5 separate regions of the Homo sapiens genome follow, and regions 1, 2, 3 and 4 are each linked to region 5. Evidence: promoter capture Hi-C in 16 types of primary human blood cells and fetal thymus (Javierre and others, 2016). All regions are on one chromosome and are shown on one strand. The core of a region is centred on a gene start or on the middle of the fragment in contact, and the rest is flanking DNA. Distances in the headings are between cores, read along the strand shown.

The links. Contacts are between HindIII fragments. The CHiCAGO score rates a contact against its expected background, and 5 or more counts as called.
Region 1: a fragment that was not itself captured here is called in contact with the fragment with the promoter of LINC02482 in region 5 in 2 of 17 cell types (total B cells and naive CD4 T cells); the score reaches 8.7 in total B cells.
Region 2: a contact is called between a fragment that was not itself captured here and the fragment with the promoter of LINC02482 in region 5, in 13 of 17 cell types (neutrophils, naive CD4 T cells, naive CD8 T cells and 10 more). The highest score is 18.4, in neutrophils.
Region 3: a fragment that was not itself captured here is called in contact with the fragment with the promoter of LINC02482 in region 5 in 14 of 17 cell types (total CD8 T cells, activated CD4 T cells, non-activated CD4 T cells and 11 more); the score reaches 15.4 in total CD8 T cells.
Region 4: a fragment that was not itself captured here is called in contact with the fragment with the promoter of LINC02482 in region 5 in 12 of 17 cell types (total CD8 T cells, naive CD4 T cells, naive CD8 T cells and 9 more); the score reaches 12.3 in total CD8 T cells.

Annotation. Positions count from the first base shown.
Region 1 is chr4:6,263,689-6,268,108 of GRCh38, reverse strand. No RefSeq gene overlaps it. Among named protein-coding and RNA genes, the nearest start is that of WFS1, 4.0 kb to the left of the region's middle. RefSeq lists an enhancer at 2,477-3,676. The HindIII fragment of the contact is 3,106 bases long and covers 937-4,042 here.
Region 2 is chr4:6,988,976-6,993,395 of GRCh38, reverse strand. All of the region lies in intron 3 of TBC1D14 (TBC1 domain family member 14), which reads right to left. Among named protein-coding and RNA genes, the nearest start is that of CFAP184, 52 kb to the left of the region's middle. The HindIII fragment of the contact is 3,241 bases long and covers 658-3,898 here.
Region 3 is chr4:6,945,519-6,950,497 of GRCh38, reverse strand. The region is part of intron 2 of TBC1D14 (TBC1 domain family member 14); the gene reads right to left. Among named protein-coding and RNA genes, the nearest start is that of TBC1D14, 38 kb to the right of the region's middle. The HindIII fragment of the contact is 6,413 bases long and covers 1-4,979 here.
Region 4 is chr4:6,965,820-6,970,646 of GRCh38, reverse strand. TBC1D14 (TBC1 domain family member 14) reads right to left here. Exons shown (of 14, transcript NM_020773.3): 3 at 3,223-3,343. Among named protein-coding and RNA genes, the nearest start is that of TBC1D14, 58 kb to the right of the region's middle. The HindIII fragment of the contact is 1,052 bases long and covers 2,875-3,926 here.
Region 5 is chr4:6,670,319-6,675,130 of GRCh38, reverse strand. LINC02482 (long intergenic non-protein coding RNA 2482) reads left to right here and starts at 1,250. Exons shown (of 2, transcript NR_134665.1): 1 at 1,250-1,447; 2 at 4,138-4,403. MRFAP1L2 (Morf4 family associated protein 1 like 2) reads right to left here and starts at 1,056. Exons shown (of 1, transcript NM_138699.3): 1 at 1-1,056. The coding sequence starts at 918. The coding sequence ends at 559. RefSeq lists a silencer at 752-981 and an enhancer at 1,454-2,062. The HindIII fragment of the contact is 2,330 bases long and covers 1-1,652 here.

The DNA.
Region 1 (4,420 bases), core at 1,240-3,739, 410 kb after region 5:
AGGTGAGCAAAGTGCCAGGAGAACGTGTCCCTGGAAATCCCAGATGCCAAGGATAAAGAGACGGTCTTGCAGAGTTCCAGAAAGAACAGGTCACATCTAAGGGGAGAAAAGTTGAAGTGGTTCCTAGGGGACTTTGGAGCAATGTCCAGGGACTCTGATGATAGGATCAAGGATCCTTACCATGGCTACTACAGGATTCATCTATGTGGACAAAAGAGAGAAAATATCCACTGTGGCAAGACAGAGAAAGGACCTCAGTGATGTCCCCTTTCAGAGGAAGATATTCAGAGTTCCCCCGTCACCGAGACAGTTCAATCACAGTAGAGATTTCAAGATAGAGCAAACGCTCAGAACAGGAAGTGGTGTTAAGCAATGACCCTTGCAAAATATACAGTATGGATAATCCACATGTGCCTGTGATTTTGTACTAGCAGTGCCACATAAGGATTCTTAAAACATAAGCTACATGCTTCAAGAGAAAGTTGTATTAGCCTGGAACTAAAAAAAAAAATAGAATCTTATCACAGAGAAGTCAGAATATTTTAAGATCACATTTGGTTGAGGGGAGAAGGAGGAAGTAAAAGGATCTGATTTGGTGAGTGGGGAAGGAAAGCCTTATTGGTGGTTGGGAGGGGTGCTTCATTACCATTTACTTTTAATACATTAGCAGGGAAAGATTGGTTTAATTATGACTCTCAGCTGGGGAAGGAAAGCCTTATTGGTGGTGGGGAGGGGGCTTCATTACCATTTACTTTTAATACATTATCAGGGAAAGATTGGTTGAATTATGACTCTCAGGAATTGGAAAGTAGCAACTCACGGGAAAGAAGCAGAGTAGAACTCCTGAATTACTAGGTAGAAGTTGGGGGAGGGGTGGAGGGAGAGTAAGGAAGCAAAATTAAGGGGGAAAGTAAATAATAGCAAGAACAATAAGCTTAATAATAGTAAACATAAGATGAGATAAAATAAATAAAGCCATGGCTACCCGCCTTCGTAACACGGTGAATGGGCTGAATTTCCCATCCAAAGTCTGTAAGATTGGGGCAAAAACTAAAGTCCAGTTAAGCGCTATTTACAAGAAACACACCAAAAATATTGAGAAGTAGAAGATCACAGCAGACATTTGAAAAATGGCAAATTACTATTGATAAGGAAGAACGCATGATGGAAAGCATTCACGGGAAGAGTGGTATTATGTAAGGGTGCCAGGCACAATCCACAAAGATTTCATTGTCATGAATCTGAATGAGCCAGAAAATCTAGTAGCCACACACTTAAAGCAGTAACTGCTAGAAATACTAGAACTTATTAAAACACAACTCTGGTGGGAGAAAGAGCCAGCTGTTCAATGCTATCTTTTCTAGGACACCTGTCCTCATTCCCCCAAGAGCTGAGCTCTGCATGTTGCTGCTGAGTATTGAATGAATGAATGGATGGATGGATGGATGAATCACCTATGCAAGGACTTCATATAAGCTCTTTCTTGCCCATAGGACAGTGTCCAAACTCTTTAACCTGACATCCAAATATACCCCCCACAATTCAGTCCTTTGATGTCTGCCCATGATTTTCAGACTCTGCATTCAAGTTCTTGGCCCACTTCCTTCCCTACACCTATTTAAAACCTACTTCCATTTACTCAACAAACATTTAGTGACTTTTGGCCAGGCGTGGTGGCTCACACCTGTAATCCTAGCCCTTTGGGAGGCCGAGGTGGGTGGATCACTTGAGGTCAGCAGTTCGAGACCAGCCTGGCCAACATGGAGAAACCCCATCTCTACTAAAAATACAAAAAAATTAGCCGGGCGTCATGGCACATGCCTGTAATCCCAGCTACACAGGAGGCTGAGGCAGGAGAATCGCTTGATCCCAGGAACTGGAGGTTGCAGTGAGCAGAGATCATGCCACTGCACTCCAGCCTGGGCGACAGAGTAAAACTCTGTCTCAAAAATAATAAGAATAATAATAAAATAAATAAAAATTAAAAAATATAAACATTTAGTGACATCCTGCCTGTTCCAGGCATTGGACTACATGCCAAGTATTCAAAGAAAATGAGGACAGAGGCTTGGTGAGTTGTCATTTGAAAGACAGCAGAGTGTGGCGGTTTACAGGCTATTGGTGTACAAGGCCCCCAAAGAGATCACTTCCTGGAGCCTGTGAATGGTACCTTATTTAGAAAAGGGTTTTTGCAGATGTGATTAAGGATTTTGAGAAGGGGCCATTAGCCTGGCTTATCTCCTTGCAGGAGAGAGGCAGACAGAGATTTGACCACACACGGAGAAGTTGATGTGGACATAGAGCAGAGAGAGATTCCAAGACGCTGGCATTGAAGATAGGAATTATGTGGCCACAAGTCAAGGAATGCAGGCAGTCCCTGGAATCTGGAAGAGCAGGGAACAGATTCTCCTTGATTTTTGCCCAGTGACACTGATTTCAGACTTCCGGCCTTCATAACTGTGGCAGAATCCATTTCTGTGGTTTAAGCTACTGAGTGTGGCAATGAGTTTTTAGCCCACTGGGTTAATGAGATAAGAACAACATGGGCCAGGCATGGTGGCTCACGCCTGTGATCCCAGCACTTTGGGAGGCCTGGAGGTGGGGGGTGGATCACCTGAGGTCGGGAGTTTGAGACCAGCCTGACCAACATGGTGAAACCCCGTCTCTACTAAAAATACAAAATTAGCCGGGCTTGATGGCGCATGCCCGTAATCCCAGCTACTCGGGAAGCTGAGGTTGCGGTGAGCCAAGATCACACCATTGCACTCTAGCCTGGGCAACAAGAGCGAAACTCCATCACACACAAAAAACAACAACAAAAAAACAACATGTGCGGCTGGTTGGGCATGGTAGCGCACACCTGTCATCCCAGCACTTTGGGAGGCCAAGCCAGGGGGATTGCTTGGGCCCAGAAGTTCAAGACCAGCCTAGGCAACATGGCAAAAACCCATCTCCACAAAAAAATTTAAAAATCAGCCAGACGTGGTGGCATGTGCCCATAGTCCCAGCTACTCAGGAAGCTGAAATGGGAGGATTGCTTGAACTGGGGAGTTTGAGGCTGCAGTGAGCCAAGATTGCACCACTGCACTCCAGCCTGGGCATCAGAGTGAGACCCTGTCTCAAAAGAAGAGAAGAGAAGAGAAGAGAAAAGAAAAGAAAAAGTAAAAGAGATAAGGAAAGAAAAAGTAAAAGAGATAAGAATAGAAAAGAACAGAACATGTTTGGGCATGTCGGCCACACATTGGACTTCTAGCACAGCGAAACCCTAGGACTAGCCTTGTCAGCATCCCTGGGAGCCAGGCCCAGGAATCTGCATTTTAACAGGTTCCTGGGGGGTTTGTGAGACATAGGAACATTTGAGACCCATGAGTATAAAGCAGTGTGGTTCATAGTGTGATGGGTCCACCAGACCAGCAACATCAGCATCCAGCATTCCTCAGTCACCTGGACGCCTGTTACGAATGCAGAATCCCGCGCCAACCATGGACCTCCTCAGTCAGAATTTGCATTTTAATAAGATGCCCTTGGGATTTGCATGCACATTAAGGTTGGAGCCAGTGGTGGCATATGCCTGTAGTCCCAGGTACTCGGGAGGCTTGGGCAGGAGGATTGCTTGAGCCCAGGAGTTCAAGACCACCCTGGATGACATAGTGAGACCCTGTTTCTAAATAAATAAATAAAGCAAGCTAGAGAAGCCATGCTGCAAGCTGGAGGTGCTTAGCTCAGGCTATGCACATAGCGCCACCTGGAGAGCTTGTCCTGCCCAGGCCAGCTGGACCAGAAGTCTGCATTCTATGGGGAGTCCTGGATAGGGGTGCAGCAGAGGAACCGCATGGGTGCCTTTGCAATTTAGCAAGGTCTGGAGCTCACTCAGGCCATGTGCCCCATCCACTGCCTCTTTCCTGAGGCCATCCCACCAGGCCTTGACCACATCTAAGGTAGGAAGCTCTCTTTGCTGCTATACCCCGACAGATCTTCCTAACACAATGTGACACACGGGGCAGCCTCCCTCACTGTCCGAGGGTCTGAGGGTATGGAAGCTTCCCAGGATCACACACCCTGCAGCTGCTGGGCCGTAGAGCCTCTGGGCTCCCACCCCCCTCCTTCGTCCTCTCCCACTTCCCTGCTCATATCCCACCCTGGGCCCACCACTCCTCCCTCCTTCCCAGTGTTCCCTTTATAAACCTGAGTTCCCTGCCCACTCTACAGTCTCCTTGGAATCACAGCCCAAGTGGCTGGAGTTGTGGCTGGTGGGGGTGTCGTGGGGGGCTCGGTGCTGGTCACACGGCTCTGTGTCACCAGGGCTGGTGCCACATCAGAGGCCTACGCCTGCCAGCACCTCCACACACACCCCCGTGCACACACCCACCTGCCACACACACACACTGCATTGTCGCCGGGTAGTTCTGAGCCCTCCCAT
Region 2 (4,420 bases), core at 1,029-3,528, 320 kb before region 5:
CTCATTCACACCCGGTGACCCACATTCCAAACGCCCAGCTGGAAGAACTCAGGAGAGCCAAACAGGTTGGTGCTTCTGAAATAATGTGTAGGTACTTCGCTCTGTGCAAAATCAAAAAACACAATCATTTAAGATGATTATAGATAATTAAGGAAATATTACAGACAAGGCTCTCAGGAATGCCCCTGAAGGGAAGATAATCTCATTGAGAAGATAGGACAAAGAAGGTAGTGTTAACCTAAGATTTCATGTTTGTCATGAGGTGGTGAGAAATTGCTAAATGAATTTCAGGGAAACTAGCTGTCAAGAGGCGTGTTACTGGTGAAATTATGCGGCAAGCAATTATTCTCTTAGCCAGAAAGGCCTCTAAAAAGTATAAAGAAATAGATTATTTCCTCAAAATACACAGGCTATGAGAAGGACGTGCACCAAGAAGCAGTTGGGTGGGGCAGTTTCTGTACACCTGGATGTATATGGTCACATGTCTTAACACTGTTTACTGTGGCTTAACATGGTTTCATTACAATTCTAAAATTACTTCCACTTACCAAAAACTGAAAACACGGACTCATTCCTTGCTGGATTCAAGCATCTGAACATCTACACTGTATGGGGTACACAGCCGTGACCTAAGACGGCACTAGCCCTCATGAAGCTTCAAGTCTAGCACCTGAATGTCAAAGTCTCCAATTTCATAGGAAATCAAACAAAAGCTGTGTGTTGAGAAAGATTCTGAGGCATGCTGCATTTTAACAAGAATTAGTAACACATACCCCATGAGGTGCTACTTATCTGCTGAGCCTGGTCTGGTGAACTGTATGCCAAGGCCAGAATGCTGGGCCCAAAATCAGCCATGGCAGGATGTGGATGCCCATTTCCATCGGCTTTTGTGTGCTCTGTGCATGTGGACTCACTTTGTCTTCACAGCAATCTGCTTGGCAAGTGTTACCCATTTTAAAGACAGGGTAACTGAGGCTCAAAGTGAAGTGACTTGCCTGAAGCATACAGCCAGCAAGGCTGGGCCTGCCGCCCTGAGCCGGCCCAATATCATCTGTGAATACACTCAAACCCACAGGTGTGCAGTTTTAGAGGGGAAAGCCCGAGTCCTACACGGCTTAGGTGTGGCCTCTGCAGCCAGATAGCTCTGGGAGCAAATTCAGATCCACCAACCACCAGCTGTGACCTCGGGCAAGGTACTCACTTCAAATCCCTAAGCCTTCTTTCCACATCTGCAAAATGGGAAACCCCGCCTGCCTCACCCTGAGTGGGCTGCTGGAAGGAATGAGGTGATGTCACAGCCTCTGGTGCACAGGGAGTGCTGGAGAAGGGCAGCCCTTGTTGGTCTGCGCCACTAGCTTTCTCTCCCCTCAGACCTGAAACCACGGGAAAGGCAGAAAACCATGCTCTAGTGCCAAACAACAATCTAGGAGCCCTGCCAAGTTGCCAACAGCACAGATACAAAAAGTAGGAGTAAAAGGAAGTAAAAGCCTTGAGTCATGACCAGAAACATCAGATCGCTTCAGTCAGAGCTTCTTACTATTACCAACAGCAACAAACAGTGGCGGCGGCTGACGCTAACAAGCCCAGCACCTCTGAGTGCTTTACGCGTGCACACTGGGTTAACTCCATCTCCTCCACACCAGCCCCCCGAAGGGGCTGCTCCACCCTAGACCATGCTGGGTTAACTCCATTTCCTCCACACCAGCCCCCCGAAGGGGCTGCCCCATCCCAGACCACGCCAACAAGACAGCTGCACAAGGACACGCTGTACCTCACCAGCGCAAAGCTGTGGCTGTGGTCAGATGGCCCAACGAAGGTTCAAGAAAAAAAAGCAGGGATGCAGGCTACCTGAGGCAGGCATGGTTTCCTGCCTCTTCCAGTGGTTTCAGGTCTGAGGGGGAGAAAAAGCAAGTGCCACAGACCAACAAGGGCTGCTGTTTCTCCAGCACTCCCTGTGCACCAAACACACACGGGGACCCAGAGGTGTCCGTGACTTACCCGGCGGGCAAGTGGGGAAGCTGGGTCACAGGCCACGCGCTGGGGTTCCGCAGCCACACTCCTCATCACAGAATTCATGCAAGCCTCTGGCAGACATGCATCAGAAGTAATCCATCATTCAGATTCAGTCTCAGTAGTTTTCACAACCGTGACCGAAACCTCAAATACTGAACTAAGTGCACAGATCAGCAGAGACGCAGGGTCAAATGCTTGTTTTAATCACAGACCAAGGCATGATTAAAATAATAAAGTAACACAGGTGGCCTAGCCTGCTCATACTTGAAATCCCAGGCAAAGCCCTTTCCAAAACCTTAGGCACCCTTTCAGAAGAGAAATGGTGTTGGAAATGGTGACAGGTCCTGCTCTAGACCCGGTTCTCCCAGGGCAACCTGGAGGTGACAACAGTAAGCTCACTGTCCAGGCCAGACAAACCAACTTTAGAAAGAAGAAAGAGGACTGTTCACTCCCAGGATCCCGGAGGGAAGAAACAGCACTGGAGAAAGAACACTCAGTTGTGGATTATCAGCGCTAAGGTCGGGCTAGCAAGGGATAAGGCTCTGGAAGTAAAACCAGAGTTCTAGGTCCTGGCTTGGGTGAGTCGTCTTGTCTCTCAGTCTGTTCTCAGCTATAAAACAGTAGCAACTGTACAGACCACTGTGGCGGTCAAGAGATAAGATATGTAAAATGGCTGGGCACTCACTCCCTCAAGTGCCAAGCCCTTTCTGTGTGCCAGGCAAGTACTGGTGCGGTCCACTTCAGTCCAACTCATCATTCCCAAGTTCCATCTCTGCATGGGACCAAATTTTGAAGTCTCTTGGTTTAAACCAAGCATCGATGCCCGTCTTGCTGTGCTCGTCAAAATCCCTGCAGACTAACAGGTAAAATAAACTGCCCACTTAAGTGACAGCTGCCACCCTGGACAACCCTAAAGGGAATTTATTTATTTATTTTTGAGGAGTCTCGTTCTGTCACCCAGGCTGAAGTGCAGTGGTGCAACCTTGGCTCACTGCAACCTCTGCCTCCCGGGTTCAAGCGATTCTCCTGCCTCAGCCTCCCAAGTAGCTGGGATTACAAGCGCGTGCCACCAGGCCCAGCTAATTTTTGTATTTTTAGTAGAGACAGGGTTTTGCCATGTTGGCCAGGCTGGTCTGGAACTCCTGATCTCAAGTGATCCACCCACCTCAGCCTCCAAAGTGCTGGGATTACAGGCGTGAGCCACTGCACCCAGCCCCCAGAAGGAATTTAGAACAAGGTTCTTCAAAGTTCTAGCAGCAGATCAGTTTGATTGGTCACAACAGCATTTTTAAAAAAAACAAAACAATAAAACACAGTACATAAATACAATTTGCTTCAGCTTTACACTTAGTTATGTCAGTACAATGAGTCTCAATTTAAAGTGTCTAACTGGGGATAATTTCAAAAAAGTTTGCAGGCTGTCAGTTTAGAAGCACAGTTGTTCGAAGTCCCTGCTCTGGGCAGCTTATAAGGAATCACGCTGGGAAAGACGAGACCATACCAACATGGCAGCAGCACCTCACTAGCAGCCAACTTGTGGGGTGTGGTCTGATGACCCAGCTAAGGTTGAAGAAAAAAGGCAGGGAGGCAGGGTGCCTGAGCAGAGCCCCAGTCTCATGCAGAGGGCTCTGCATGAGACTCAGCATGCAGGGCAAGAGGGAAGGGGCCATGTGGAAAAGAGGAAACTAATTTGTGAAGGGACCACGCGGGCCTGGCAGTTTAGGAGATCCTCAATCTCCAACCCAGCAGGGCTCACTCGACAGGGGCAATACGATGCAGGCAGAGGCTCCCACACAGGTGAGACCGTGAGATGTGCCAGGAGGGGCGAGCCACACACTGTGGGAGGAAGGGCAGGATGCCTGAGGCCAGGGGGACATGGGAAGCTTTCACAAAGGGGCCAGCTGAGTGGACAGACAGGTAAGACGTGGGCTAGAGGCCAAGAGGAAGAGGCACTCTGACAGCAGAAGCAGTGGCCAAGAGACACCCACAAGCAGGCTAGCACCAGGATTTGAACCGGGAATGGTGCAGAGTCAAAGTTGTTTTGCTCTAGATTTGAAGGTCTCAACACGTTACCCAGAGGTGCTGGGACAAGCCCCAGGAGAGAGAGGAGAGCCAGAGGAGAGACTATGAGGTATGGGGAGCCCCTCAGACGCATCCAGGGGCAGGGTCTACATTCCACGTGTGATCTGCACAGTGCTAAAGACAAGAAGGGCACGAGGCTCCTGAATTAGGTTTAACGTTTGTTGGTTTAAAAAGCGGGGGAAAAGCCTGCTTCAATGCACATTTGTTTTAAGAGCGAAAAGAAAGGATCATGATTCTCAAACAATGAAGAAGTATTCCTAAGCCTGGCACAGAGGTGCTGTGCCTGTGGTCCCAACTACTCAAGAGGCTGAGACAAGGATCACTT
Region 3 (4,979 bases), core at 1,955-4,454, 270 kb before region 5:
CCAGAGCCCAAGACCCAGACTAGGATTTCTGCCAGTCCCACTTCAATTCAGCACTAAATGGGAGAGCCTGGCCATACAATAAGACAAGAAAACAAAATGAAAGGTGTAAGAGTTGAAAGAAAGAAACTCATTCACAGACAGGACGATTTTCTACAGAGAGGATCCAAATGAACTATGGATAAGCTATTAGAATTAGTAACCGAAGTTAGCAAGGCCTATACACAAAAACTCACTGCATTAGCCATAAAAAATAATGAGTTCACGTCCTTTGCAGGGACACGGATGAAGCTGGAAGCCATCATTCTCAGCAAACTAACACGGGAACAGAAAACCAAACACCGCATGTTCTCACTCATAAGGGGGAGTTGAACAATGAGTACGCATGGACACAGGGAGCGAACATCACACAACAGGGCCTGTTGGAGGTGGGGAGCACGGGGAGAGGGAGCATTAGGACAAATGCCTAATGCATGTGGGGCTTGAAACCCAGATAACAGGTTGATGGGTGCAACAAACAACCACAACACATGTATACCTATGTAACAAACCTGCATGTTCTGCACATGTATCCCAGAACTTAAAGTAAAATAAAAAATAAAAAAATTCACTGCATTTACAACAAACACTACCCAACGAGTCAACTCTACATTTCTTGACATTTGTAAAACCATCCCAAACAGTATCCAGGAATAAATTTAATGAAAGAAACATAAGACCTTTACATTAAAAAAAAAAACAAAAACAAAACTACGAAATGTGGAGAAATGAAAGAAAACCTAAATAGAGGTTCAAGGATTCAATTTTTTTTTTTTTTTGAGACGGAGTCTTGCTCTGTCGCCCAGGTCGGAGTGCAGTGGCACGATCTCAGCTCACTGCAAACTCTGCCTCGCGGGTTCAAGCGATTCTCCTCCCTCAGTCTCCCAAGTAGCTGGGATTACAGGCACCTGCTACTACACCCGGCTAATTTCTGTATTTTTAATAGAGATGGAGTTTTGCCATGTTGGTCAGGCTGGTCTCCAACTCTTGACCTCAGGTGATACACCTGCCTCGGCTTCCCAAAGTGCTGGGATTATAGGCGTGAGCCACTGTGCCCGGCCACGAATTAGAAGTCTTCATGTAATAAACACTGATCTATAAATTCAATGCAATCCCAAACCAAACCCTTGCAAATTTATTTGTACAATCTGCCAAACTGATTCTAAAATCTATATAGAAATGAAAAAGACCAAGACTAGCCAAGACAACCTTCCAGAACAAAATAGAAGGGCTCCCTCCCAAGTGCTGGGATTACAGGCGTGAGCCGCTGCGCCCAGCCTTTTTTTTTGAGACAGATTCTCACTCTGTTGCCCTGGCTGGAGTGCAGTGCCAAGATCTCAGCTCACTGCAACCACCACCTCCCAGGTTCAAGTGATTTTCCTGCCTCAGCCTCCCAAATAGCTTGGATTACAGGTGTGCGCCACCACGCCTGGCTAATTTTTTGTATTTTTACTAGAGACAGGGTTTCACCATGTTGGCCAGGTGATCCACCCGCCTCGGCCTCCCAAAGTGCAGGGATTACAGATGTAAGCCACCACGCCCGGCCAGGAGATGGCCAACATGGTGAAACCCCATCTCTACTAAAAATACAAAAATTAGCCAGGCGTGGTGGCTCACGCCTGTAATCCCAGCTACTTGGGACGCTGAGGCAGAAGAATCGCTTGAATCTGGGAGGCGGAGGTTGCAGTGAGCTGAGATCTCACTACTGCACTCCAGCCTGGGTGACAGACTCTGTCTCAAAAAAAAAAAAAAAACCAAGTACCCCTACCTTGTCACCGGAATGACAAAAAGAAAAATAAACTGACAATATCACCTTTCGGAAGGATCAAGAGCAGCCGGCATCACCACACACCGCGAGTGGGACCCACGGGAGACCCACCTGTCCCACCCCCCAGGCACGCACACGCCAGTGACATCCGTGAGAACACCATGGTGGGCATTATTTGTAACCATTGGACCCTGAACAAATCAAACCTCCACACATGGGAGAACAAAGAGTGGGATACCCATACAGCCGAAAACTAGACAACAATAAATGGATGCTACTGCTATGCAAAACCTCCCAGGGTCAGTTTGCCAGTGTTGAGCAAAGAAAGCCAGACATGAGAGGGCATAATGGATGAGTCCATTTACCTAAAGAAGGCAGAGCTCATGTGTGGTGACAGAGTCAGAACAGTGGTTACCCATGGGGAGCGAAATGCTGACAGGGAAGGAACCCAAAGGAGACTTCTGGGGGTTCTAGTCATAGTCTCTGTACTGACTGAGGTGGCAGACACACGAGTGTGTTCACTTCATGTACTTAAGTTCTGCAGGCTTTGCTCTCCTTTACATAAAATTTCAATACATGCTAACTCAGCTCAAACCACTCTCCCGTGCAGCCTTCCTGGGCTCATGTGCCCCCTCCCCACGCAGTCCCTCCTCTGTGCTCCCAAAGCACGTCCACATTTATCTCTGACACAGAGCTGGGAGTATTGCATTTTTGTTATTTGCACCTCACCTCCCCCTGCATTTGTAGGGCAGGCGGGCTTCCTACTTGGTCTTTGTATCCCCAAGGTCTGACATAAAACCTGCCAGATAGAACTGCATTAAAAGGTATTCATTAACTAACCCTGAAATGACTCTGCCACGAACGTCTCCACTGATGAAGTCACTGAGTCCAAAGCAAGATCTAGTGTTCTCCCTGAAGTCATACTCTCCTTGAAATCTCCTTCAAACACTCTCTAATATTTAAATACAGGAGGGGAAAAGTAAACAGGGATCCACTCTCTAACATCAGCTTAGATTTTTTTTTTTTTTTTTTGAGACGGAATCTCACTCTGCTGCCCAGGCGGGAGTGCCGTGGCGCAATCTCAGCTCACTACAACCTCCGCCTCCCGGGTTCAAGGGATTCTCCTGCCTCAGCCTCCTGAGTAGGTGGGATTACAGGCACCCGCCACCAGGGGCAGCTAATTTTTTTTTTTTTTTGAGACAGGGTCTTGCTCTGTTGCCCAGGCTGGAGTGCAGTGGCACGATCTCGGCTCACTGCAAGCTCCACCTCCCGGGTTCACGCCACTCTCCTGCCTTAGCCTCCCAAGTAGCTGGGACTACAGGCACCCGCCACCACAGCCGGCTAATTTTTTTGTATTTTTAGTGGAGACGGGGTTTCACCGTGGTAGTCAGGATGGTCTCGATCTCCTGACCTCGTGATCTGCCTGCCTCGGCCTCCCAAAGTGCTGGGATTACAGGCTTGAGCCACCGCGCCTGCCCTAATTTTTTTATTTTTAGTAGCGACAGGGGTCTCACCACGTTGGCCAGGCTGGTCTTGAACTCCTGAACTCAAGTGATCCGCCCGCCTCGGCCTCCCAAAGTGCTGGGATTACAGGCGTGAGCCACTGCGCCGGCCTAACTTAGATTTTTACAAGGAGAGAGAGAGATGGCAGAGCAAAAATGCCCATGTAACTTAGTACAAAACAGTACTAAGAAAAATACTAATTTATTCTTAATCTCCACCTAATAGTAAGGAAAAGAGGAGAGGAGGACTTAACAATAAGTTTGTAAGTAGCACAAATTATGAGGGGTCTAGGGATTGCATTTCAGGGAAGGAATGACATTACTATGTTCCTTCCATATTAGAAATCTTAAGGAGTAAGATCTGACTTAAGGTGGGAGGGGATATACGTGGGATTTAGACTCAGGCAGGTCAGGAGCTCAAATCCCAGCTTCGTAACAAGCTGCCTGATGTTAGGCAAGAAATGAACCTCTCTAGCCTCAGTTTTACCATCTGTAGAATGGAGATATCATCAATCAGTTACCATCAGAGTTTGTGTCTGTTAACTCTGCTTATTAATAAATAACACTAAGGGGCCGGATGTGGTGGTTCACGCCTGTAATCCCAGCACTTTGGAAGGCCGAGGCAGGTGGATCACAAGGTTAGGAGTTCGAGACCAGCATGACCAACATGATGATACCCCGTCTCTACCAAAAATAATACAAAAATTAGCTGGGCCTGGTGGCACGCACCTGTAATCCCAGCTACTCAGGAGAATCGCTTGAACCCGGGAAGCAGAGGTTACAGTGAGCCAAGATTGCACCATTGCACTCCAGCCTGGGTGACAGAGCAAGACTCTGTCTCAAAAATAATAATAATACAAGTAAAATAAATAAATAACACTAAGAGCAGTCTGTTAATTATATAGGCCCAAGCATCTCCTCTCATTTAATCCTAACCTTATTCATCCATGTCATTTTTTTCATTCAACAAATACATATTGAGAACCAACTATGTTCTAGGTGCTATGCCATGTACTGGGAATATAGTTCCTGATGACCGGAAATGTAGGTACCCATCCTCACGGGGCTTGTCTTGAAGAAGAGAAAATTCAGAGACAGAACCTTGCCTCAGATCGTGCGATAAAGTGCCTATATTTGAGCTGAAGTCTGAATTGAAAGTCCATTCTTTCTACTGGTGGCTCTGAACCCTCTGCGTGCTAGAGTCACCCGGGGAGTTTTCAAGCATCCTGAGGCGCAGGTTTCACCCCAAACCAATGAAAATCAATCTCTGAGGGGAGAATGCATATATTAATTTTTCTTTGTTAAGTTTGCCAGGTAATCCTACTGTGCAGCTAGGACTGAGAACTTCGCTCCTTAATAAGTCTTTCCCCTCCCATGCTATCTCATTTCTTTAATGCTTTCTTTCATCTTTTTTTTTTTTTTTTTTTTTTTTTTTTTTTTTTGAGACGCAGTTTTGCTCTAGTTGCCCAGGCTGGAGCGCAATGGCGCGATCTCGGCTCACCGCAACCTCCGCCTCCCGGGTTCAAGCGATTCTCCTGCCTCAGCCTCCTGAGTAGCTGGGATTACAGGCGCGTTGCCACCACGCTCGGCTAATTTTGCATTTTTAGTAGAGACGGGGTTTCTCCATGTTGGTCAGGCTGGTCTCGAACTCCAAACCTCAGGTGATCCGCCCA
Region 4 (4,827 bases), core at 2,151-4,650, 290 kb before region 5:
TCCTTGAGGTAGGTCAACCCAACTGCTCTTGGGCTCCCAGTGCGCAGCACAAGACCTGGCCTCAACATGGCTCAGTACTTGTTGGCCAAGCAGATGAAGAATGCACTGAAGAGCTCAGGCTCATTCTCTTGCACTGTGTTCCGTTGTTCCATTTCCTGTTGTTCAAGGTTGACTTGTCATAAGAAAGAAACAACGGTAACAGCAAATACTTTCTATGTCCACTACTATTCTGAGTGCGTGTGTGTATTCACCCGTTTAATCCTCACCACCATGGAGGCAGGTGCTACTGTTCTCCATACTGTAGAGATGAGGAAAATGAGGCTCAGAAAGGTTAAATAACTTGCCCAAAGTCACACAACCAAACCGTAGCAGAGCTGGGATACAAACCCTGGTAGTCTAACTCCAAAGTCCAAGTTCTTATGTCACCACGTGATGTTGCTCTCTCAAGTAATAAGAAAACTTCCAGAGAAGGAAAAGGAATTTCCTCAACACTTTCTCTAGGCTTCGGCCCTGACTGGAGTTATTGTCACCATCCTGATCACAAGTCTAGGCTGTCATGGCCCCAGCGCCTGCCTCTCTCAAGTGCAGGCTGTGTGAGCCCATGCCTATGACAGCAGCCAGCCCCAGCCAGCAGCGCAGAGGCCTCCCCACAGTGCTGAGTCCCTGACCCTGAGCCCCTCCCAGGCTTCACCAAGTCCCTTGGGTTGGGAGATGAGCGATGAGAGGGCCAGAGACAAGCAAGCAGGTCCCGGGCAGGATTGAATGACTCGCGCAGGTAAGTTACATTCTTTATTATTGACGACGGAAGCAGATGGTCCTCCTCTTGGCAATATTGTGTTACCGCATAATGAACTGGCCTAGTCATTTCAGTTCACAGAAAAAAAAAAATCCTCTAAGGTCAAGAACATAATCCATGCTCCCCTCAAAAAAAAAACAGGGTCGGGCCGGGCATGGTGGCTCATGCCTGTAATCCCAGCACTTTGGGAGGCCGAGGCAGGTGGATCACAAGGTCAGGAGATTGAGACCATCCTGGCTAACATGTTGAAACCCCGTCTCTACTAAAAATACAAAAAGTTAGCCAGGCGCGGTGGTGGGCACCTGTAGTCCCAGCTACTGGGGAGGCTGAGGCAGGAGAATGACATGAATCCGGGAGGCGGAGCGTGCAGCGAGCCAAGATCGCACCACTGCACTCCAGCCTGGGCGACAGAGTGAGACTCCGTCTCAAAAAAAAGAAAAAAAAACAGGGTCTTAAAAAGACAAACAAGTTCAAACATTATGTAAGTGATATTAAGTGCCATGGGAAGATCTATTTCTTTTTAATGTAATTGTTGCTTTTTTAAAGTGATTTCTTTAAAAACTTTATAGCAGCTTGGTTATTTAATTTCCTAAGAAATTTATAGCTAAGCTTTGCATACAAACTCATCATACTTTAATTGTATGCTATTTTAATAAGCCTACACAATAAGTGATTCAAATTCAAAATGTAACAATCAACAAAAATGAATTCCAACACTGATTTACTTAGTGAGTCCCCTGGGTCCAGATGATTACAGCAGAGAATGGCAGACAACACTCAAACCAAATTTAACCTGCCGACGCGTGAAGAATGTGGCATGTGGAAACCCACTTTGTTGCCCAGAAGCCTCAACACTGCGCTCCCGCCTCACCCCCAACAAACCACTCCCTACACCTAACAGGTCACCCAGCAAGTCAATCCCATCCATTTAGCACTTAAAGGGGCATCCTCTGTAACCCCACGACGCAGCACTGGGCCAGACCCCACTTTCTCTTGCCTGGGCTGGTCCAAGAGCCATATTCTTGCCAGGGTGATGCCATCACTCCTTACCTACGTAAAACACTCAGAGGCTCTGCAAAGCCTTGGGGTTGGAGGCAGGCTACCGGGTGCAGCGCACAGGCCCCATGGCCAGCCTCCTCCCGGCAGTCAGCCTCCTCTCGGCGGTCAGCCTCCTCCCGGCGGTCAGCCTCCTGGGCTCAGCTGCACATTGTCCTTAGCTCATGCTGTCCCCACTACCTGCCTGGCCCTGCCTGCAAAAGGGGTCCTGGCATCCCACTGTCTGGGACCGGTTTCCAGCTGTGCTACTTACTAGCAATGTGACCCTGCACATCAAGTCACACAGCCTCTGTGTCTCAGTGCTTCTTTGGTAAACTGAGTTTAATAATACTATCTTCTTCACAAGGTTGTTGCGAGTTTTAAAGGAACTAGAAACACGAGTGCTGAGTCCGTTAGAACTAGCACACAGTAATCACTCAGTACATGATCCCCATAGCAATTAATTTCCTGTCACACCTTTAACCTCAGTTGTCTGTGCCACCCCACTCCTCCTGCGCCTGCCCTGGAATCATTTCCATGGGGACACTGTTGGGCACGGGTACTGTGTCCCTTCCAACTCCGGTGCCAAGCATGAGGCCTGGCGCTTAGTGGAGCCTCAAGAGTGTCTACTGAGCAAATGTCAATGAATATAAAACTGAAGCTGGAGGAGCGAGGGTGCTGGGGGCAATGTCGCGACACTTGGGGCAGACAGCAGACTCTTAGGATGCCGAGCCGGCTGAGACCCACAGCCTAAGAGAAGCTGCAGGCAGCGACGGTCACAGCTACCTGGGCCGTGGACTTGCTGTGTCCGTGCACAAGCAAGCCTCCAGCAGTGGCATCTCTCCCACCGTAAGGAGCAAGGCAGCCCAGTGGTGAGGACATGCAGGCCTGGCATGAACCCCATCCCCACCCCAAAAGTAGGCAGCCTCAGGGTGAGCAAGGGAGAGGCATCCCAGCAGAGCCGGGGAATGTCGGCCCTCGCCTTCCTGTCCCAGAGTAGCACAGGAAGGATGTGAGCTCCAAGAAACCCACGGGAGAAAGCTTTACTATCAAACAATACAAATTTGATGATAAACACATTTGCAACTATTACTAAAACTGATTAAATACAGTTATAAACATCTAGAGCCCAGCTCTGTCTAAATACCATTATAAACATCTAAAGCCGACCTCTGTCAAATGGACTTTCCTATGTGCATGTTACAAGCTGTAAGAAATGAAGGTTAAATTCATCCACATTGTGAATACAGACTTAAATCTGAGGAACGTGGTATGCAGATAATACAAAGCGATTTCCAGTTTCAGACTCAATATGGTCATTTTTGCAAGGTTCATGAATATATGCTAAACACATCCAACAGCCTATTTCTGTGATTTTGTATCTTGTGTACCTTCTGTATTCTCTTTGAATCCTTCTGGGCATTCTCTCGGAGTGGCGCTTTCCCAAATAACTTCCATCCCAAGTCATTGTGTTTGTCAAGCCTTGCACTTTGTTTTCTAGCAAGCAAGTTCCTATAGGAAGAAAATAACAAGGTTAGGGCATTTCTGGGTAATTCAAGAAACACCAGAACAGCAGAACCACTCTAATAAAAACAAGTCAGCTTTCCTCTGAGAACCACGTACTTTAATTCTTCAGACTTGATTTTCATACAGACACAGAATTACGCGGCAGGAGAAAGACCTTAAGCCAGAAATAAACTTTTTGTTGGCCAGGTGCAGTGGCTCACGCCTGTAATCCCAGCACTTTGGGAGGCCGAGGTGGGCAGATCACGAGGTCAGGAGATCGAGACCATCCTGGTTAACATGGTGAAACCCCGTCTCTACTAAAAATACAAAAAATTAGCCCAGCATGGTGGCAGGCACCTGTAGTCCCAGCTACTCGGGAGGCTGAGGCAGGAGAATGACATGAACCTGGGAGGCGGAGCTTGCAGTGAGCTGAGATCGTGCCACTGCACTCCAGCCTGGGTGACAGAGCAAGACTCCGTCTCAAAATCAAACACACAAACAAAAAACCTTTTTGTTATTCAACTAATTCTATAATTTAGAGTAAGAAAATGTGTTATGTCATAACAAAGGGTATCAGAAAAAGTAAGCTTTGAAGTCAGACTAAACTGAATTGAAACTCTGGCTCAACCATTCATTAGCCACATGACACTGGACCAGTATATTAACCTCTGAGCCTCAGTTTCCTACATTTAACAAGGGCACACTGCCCCATGTTCTACAAGGTTGTTATACAAATTAAAATTTCAAGTACACAATTAGTGTTAAAGAGTAACAGCTGCTTTAGTACGTAACCCCTAGCTTAAATTATGTACAAGGTAAATCTGTATTACCTATTTATAATGAGTATTCACATATCATAAAAAGAAAGTTACTCATGAGATGATCACAAGGTCTTCTCTCCAAAGAACATGTAAACAAAAGTTCCAAATAACACAAATAAATCCCAACTAGTAGTATTAACACAAAATAAAATTTTGGAATGCACTGTATCAATGCATTCATTAAAAACAAATGGCTTCCAGGACTTACTAGAAAGTACAAGATGAGCCTGCAGCATCTTGCTGGACTAGAAAGAAAGTTCTCAAAGAAATACTGGGACGTGTCTAAAAGAAACAGTAGCCAGCCTGAATAGGCTCCCACTGACTCAATCTGGAACAATTTACTCATCCAAATAATGAGAACAATGGATTATAACTCACTGAATAAAAGAGAAATCCACTAGCCCATATAGGTACAAATAAACAAACATAGAAATTAATGGAGGAGGAGGAAAGCTCTTGGGAAGTCACCTAGTAAGGAGAGACCAATGGAGCTAGGAAATGATCAACAGATGCTTACACCAGTGGGGAAAGCTCAATGAGGAATGGATTTTTACACAGTTTGAAAGTGTCTCCTACAAATTCCTTATTAATTACATGAAGCAAAATAGTTAATCTTATGCCGGAGAAACCTGAGGGACACACCTCAGCCAAGTGATCAAAGCTAACATC
Region 5 (4,812 bases), core at 1-2,500:
TACTGGAAATTGAGTGGCTAATGTGGAGAAAACGCAGGCAGAAAAACAGGGGAGACAAAACGAAAGGCTCTCTTGGTTTGAGCCTGTCCAAGCAGCCACGACTCCTTATCAGGTGAACACAGTTCGTCAGTTGGCCACCTAAAGTACAAGTGGGAGAAATTCATCATCACAACATAAATTTTGAGCTTGATATTCTCATATCCGGGAGTCAAACAAACCCAACCACCTGTGCACAATGCTTCCACCTGCAGGAAGGTCATCGCAAACGCTCCAATCTCGTAACAACATTCACACGTTTCCAGCATGTACCTCCGCTTCACACCTCTCTCCCCCCACGTAGTGACCCACCAGGTCTACGTCCTGAAAATACTTCCAGTGGTCATGACTCTTTACAACAACATATCAAATTATTTTCTCTAATTACCTATGAAAAAAGAATGAAACCAACTCCGCGGAGAGCGTGGCACGGCTCTGCGCTCCCCTCCCTGCCTACCCAGCGCCTTCCACGCGGGACACTCCCCGCCGCGCTCCGCTCCAGACCCGCGCGGCCTCGCCGGCTCAGCAGCACTCGCAGCCGGCGATCCGCTGGTGCAGCTCCACGATCCGCCTGCCCATCCGCGCCGCCTCCGCAGCCTTCCTCTCTGCTTCGGCGCACAGCCGAGCCACCCGCTCCTCAGCCTCCGCACGCGGGCGGGGTGCTGGGGCCCGGGCGCCCCGCTCCTCTGCCTCCACCTCACTCTTGATGGCGTCGAGCAGGCTCTGGATCTCCAGCAGCTTCCTGCGGGCCCGCCAGTGCGCCCGGGCGCGCTCGCGCTCCAGGGAGGCCAGGTTCTCGCGGCCGGCGCGGGGCGCGGGGCTCAGCGGGCTGCCCGGCTCCTCGCGGGGCTCCCGCGCCTCGTCCGCGTCCACGGGCCGCATCACGCCGCCGCCTCTTCCAGCCCGCGGGGCACGCCGGGGCTGCTCACCAGCAGCGAGCGCGGAAGCCTCGCTGTCACCAACGACCAGACTAGCAACAGGTTGCCCCAACTTTCCGCAGCGAGGACGGTATCCAAAATGGGCTACTAGCCGTCGGCCAGGACGCTGCCACTGCGGCCCTTTTACGACACCTGCGGTCCTTTACCGCCACGCAGCAAGCGAGAACCGCATTCGGGGCTCCCGCCTCAGCGGTCCTGCGCGCGCACGCGCACTTGCACGCACGCGTACCCCCCCGCACGCATGCGCACCCCATGTCCCCGCCCGCTGTAGCGCCACAGCTCTTTGGGCGTTGATTCTAGGGTCAGGGCCCTCACTCACACTGCTGGAAGGTTAAAGTCGACTTCACGCTAGTTTAAGGAAATATCTGACGCTGATAACCATGTCCCAAGCACTGCTCTAAGTTCCCAATGTGTCCGGAATTGGTGGGTTCTTGGTCTCACTGACTTCAAGAATGAAGCCACGGACCCTCGCGGTGAGTGTTACAGCTCTTAAAGTGGCGCGTCTGGAGTTTGTTCCTTCTGATGTTCGGATGTGTTCGGAGTTTTTTCCTTCTGGTGGGTTCGTGGTCTCGCCGGCTCAGGAGTGAAACTGCAGACCTGTTACGGCTCATAAAGGCAGTGTGGACCCAAAGAGTGAGCAGCAGCAGGATTTATTGCAAAGAGAGAAAGAACAAAGCTTCCACAATAGAAGGGGACCTGAGCCGGTTGCCACTGCTGGCTCCGGCAGCCTGCTTTTATTGTCTTATCTGGCCCCACCCACATCCTGCTGATTGGTAGAGCCGAGTGGTCTGTTTTGACAGGGTGCTGATTGGTGCGTTTACAATCCCTGAGCTAGACACAAAGGTTCTCCAAGGCCCCAGCAGAGTCGATTGGTATATTCACAAACCCTGAGCTAGACACACGGTGCTGATTGGTGTATTTACAATCCCTGAGCTAGACATAAAGGTTCTCCACATCCCCACCAGACTCAGGAGCCCAGCTGGCTTCACCAAGTGGATCCCACACCAGGGCTGCAGGTGGAGCTGCCTGCGAGAACGGCACCGTGCGCCCACACTCCTCAGCCCTTGGGTGGTGATGGGACTGGGCGCCGTGGAGCAGGGGGTGGTGCTCGTCGAGGAGGCTCGGGCAGCACAGGAGCCCATGGAGGGGGTGGGAGGCTCAGGCATGGCGGGCTGCAGGTCCCGAGCCCTGCCCCTCGGAAAGGCAGCTAAGGCCCGGTGAGAAATCGAGCACAGCGCCGGTGGGCTGGCACTGCTGAGGGACCCAGTACACCCTCCGCAGCCGCTGGCCCGGGTGCTAAGCCCCTCATTGCCGGGGGCTGGCAGGGCCAGCCGGCTGCTCCGAGTGCGGGGCCCACCAAGCCCACGCCCACCCTGAACTCCAGCTGGCCCGCAAGCGCCGTGTGCAGCCCCGGTGCCCGCTCGCGCCTCTCCCTCCACACCTCCCTGCAAGCTGAGAGAGCCGGCTCTGGCCTTGGCCAGCCCAGAAAGGGGCCTCCACAGTGCAGCAGTGGGCTGAAGGGCTCCTCAAGTGCTGCCAAAGTGGGAGCCCAGGCAGAGGAGGCACCGAGAGTGAGCGAGGGCTGTGAGGACTGCCAGCACACTGTCACCTCTCACCAACATTCTAAATCATAAACACCCAGGCCGGGCGTGTGGCTCACGCCTATAATCCCAGCACTTTGGGAGGCTGAGGTGAGAGGATCGCTTGAGCTCAGGAGTTCCATACCAGCCTGGGCAACAAGGGAAAAAACCCTACCAAAAAAAACACAAGAAATTAGCTGGGCGTGGTGGCGCGTGCCGATAGTCCCAGCTACTTGAGAGGCTGAGCCGGGAAGATTGCTTGAGCCCAGCAGGTCGAGACCGAGGTGAGCTCTGAACGCCTGATTGCGCCACTGCACCCCAGCCCAGTGACAGGGCGAGACCCTGTCTCAAAATAAATAAATAAAAATAATAAACAACCGAATTCAGTGGTCCCGTTAGAATATTCCAGGCTCCGAGAAGCCAGGTGCTCACAGCGTCGGGATTTGCCCCCAGCCAGGGCCTCCGCTCCCTCTTGCCTCGGGCAGATGCTCCTGGAACACAGAGCTGCGGCCTCGGTGCTGATGCTGAGTGCTGTGACCCAGCCTCCCCCTACTTTTTTCCTAAGGGTATAAGCTTCACTCTGCCTGGGGCTTTGGCTGTAAGTTGGAGTCTGGCTTTACCCACTGTGGGCACCCAAGGCCAAGGTGGGTCTGATTCACCACTGTTTCCTCAGCCCTGCCAGGCTCTGAATATGCCTTTAGGAATCATTCTGGAAGATTTCTTTCTTCACTGGACTATATAAGTGCCTCTGCGAGAAAACAGGCCCTAGGGGCAGGTACTTAGTCAGTTTAGTCATCTGTTTCCTCAGCTTGAAATGGGCTTGGCATACAGCAGGAGCCCAGTAAATGTTGCTTTAATGCTCATTTCCCAAGAGATCTTTATTAAGCACCCACTGCATGTCATTGTGTCTAGGCTTATTCACTGTGTACCTCTAGCAGAAAGTTAAGGGGACCCTCCATGCTTGATGGCCAGAGGTCACTCTCAGCTCCTACAGGTCACTCTCCGGTCCTTAAACGTGGCCCTCTCCATCTTCAAAGCCAGTAAGAGCATGTCGGATCCTTCTTATCCTTCCAGCCTCTCTGTCATCCCCTTCTGCTCCCAGCTGGAGAAAACTCTGCTTTTAAGGGGCTTGCCATGGTCCAAATATGTGAGTCCCCCCAAAATTCATATGTTGCAAAGCAATCCCCAATGTGATGATATTAGGAGGTGGGGTCTTTGGGAGGTGATGTGGTCATGAAGGCTCAGCTTTCATGAATGAGATTAGCACCCTCATAAAACAACTCCACAGGGCCGCCTTACCCCTTCTGCTGTGGGAGGTTATAGCAAAAAGATGGGCTTCTATGAACCAGAAGTGGGCCCTCACCAGGCACCAAACCTGCTGGCACCGTGATCTTGTACTGCTCAGCCTTCAGAACTCAGAAAATACATTTCTGTTGTTTAGAAGACACCCAGTTTCTGGTATTTTGTTAGAGCAGCGTGAACGGACTAAAATAGTGCTTATGTGGTTGTGTAACAGCATCGATTCCATGTTAAAGAACAATTTTGCTTGCTCAATTATAATTATTGCTTTGCTTAAGTTTTAGACTATGCTAAAAACAGCCTCAGGACCTTCAGCACTGATCAACAATCCTGGGCATGGGCTGACCGACAGTTTTCACCCAGAGAGTGAAGATCATGGAGGAGCCATCTTAAATTCTGCCCAGCGCAGGCTCCCAGGAATCCTAATGTCACGATCTCACTGCAGCCAATGTGACAAACACAGCAGTAATTAAGTCTAGAGAGCTAAACACACCTCAAAAAGAATTGTCTCTTGGTATGAGTGGAATGGAATAAAATACATGGAAACCCACAAAAGTTTCGAGGTGAACATATTAGCAAAAATGCTCTAGCTTATCCAAGCGACAGTTCAAAGTGTCAAAGGACTTCTAGACTCCCAATCTTTCCACCGGCAGAAAGCAGGCTCAGTAGCCCAAACTGGCGCATTTTAAAATGCCCTTTTCAGAAGTGTGATGGAAAAAGAAGGATGTGTCAGTGCAGGCCAGTGTGTGGGGACCAATGGCAAACTGCAGCTCCTGAACTAAGAAAGACTTTCATATCTTTAAAAAAGAAAAGGAGAAATAGGAATATGTGATAGAGACTGTATGTGGCCCACAAAGCCTAACATATTTACTGTTTAGATCTTTACAGAAAATGTTTGCCAACTCCTGTGCTGCTGAGCCACTTCCAGGTTGCAGAACCAAAGCCTTACATTCCCTAGC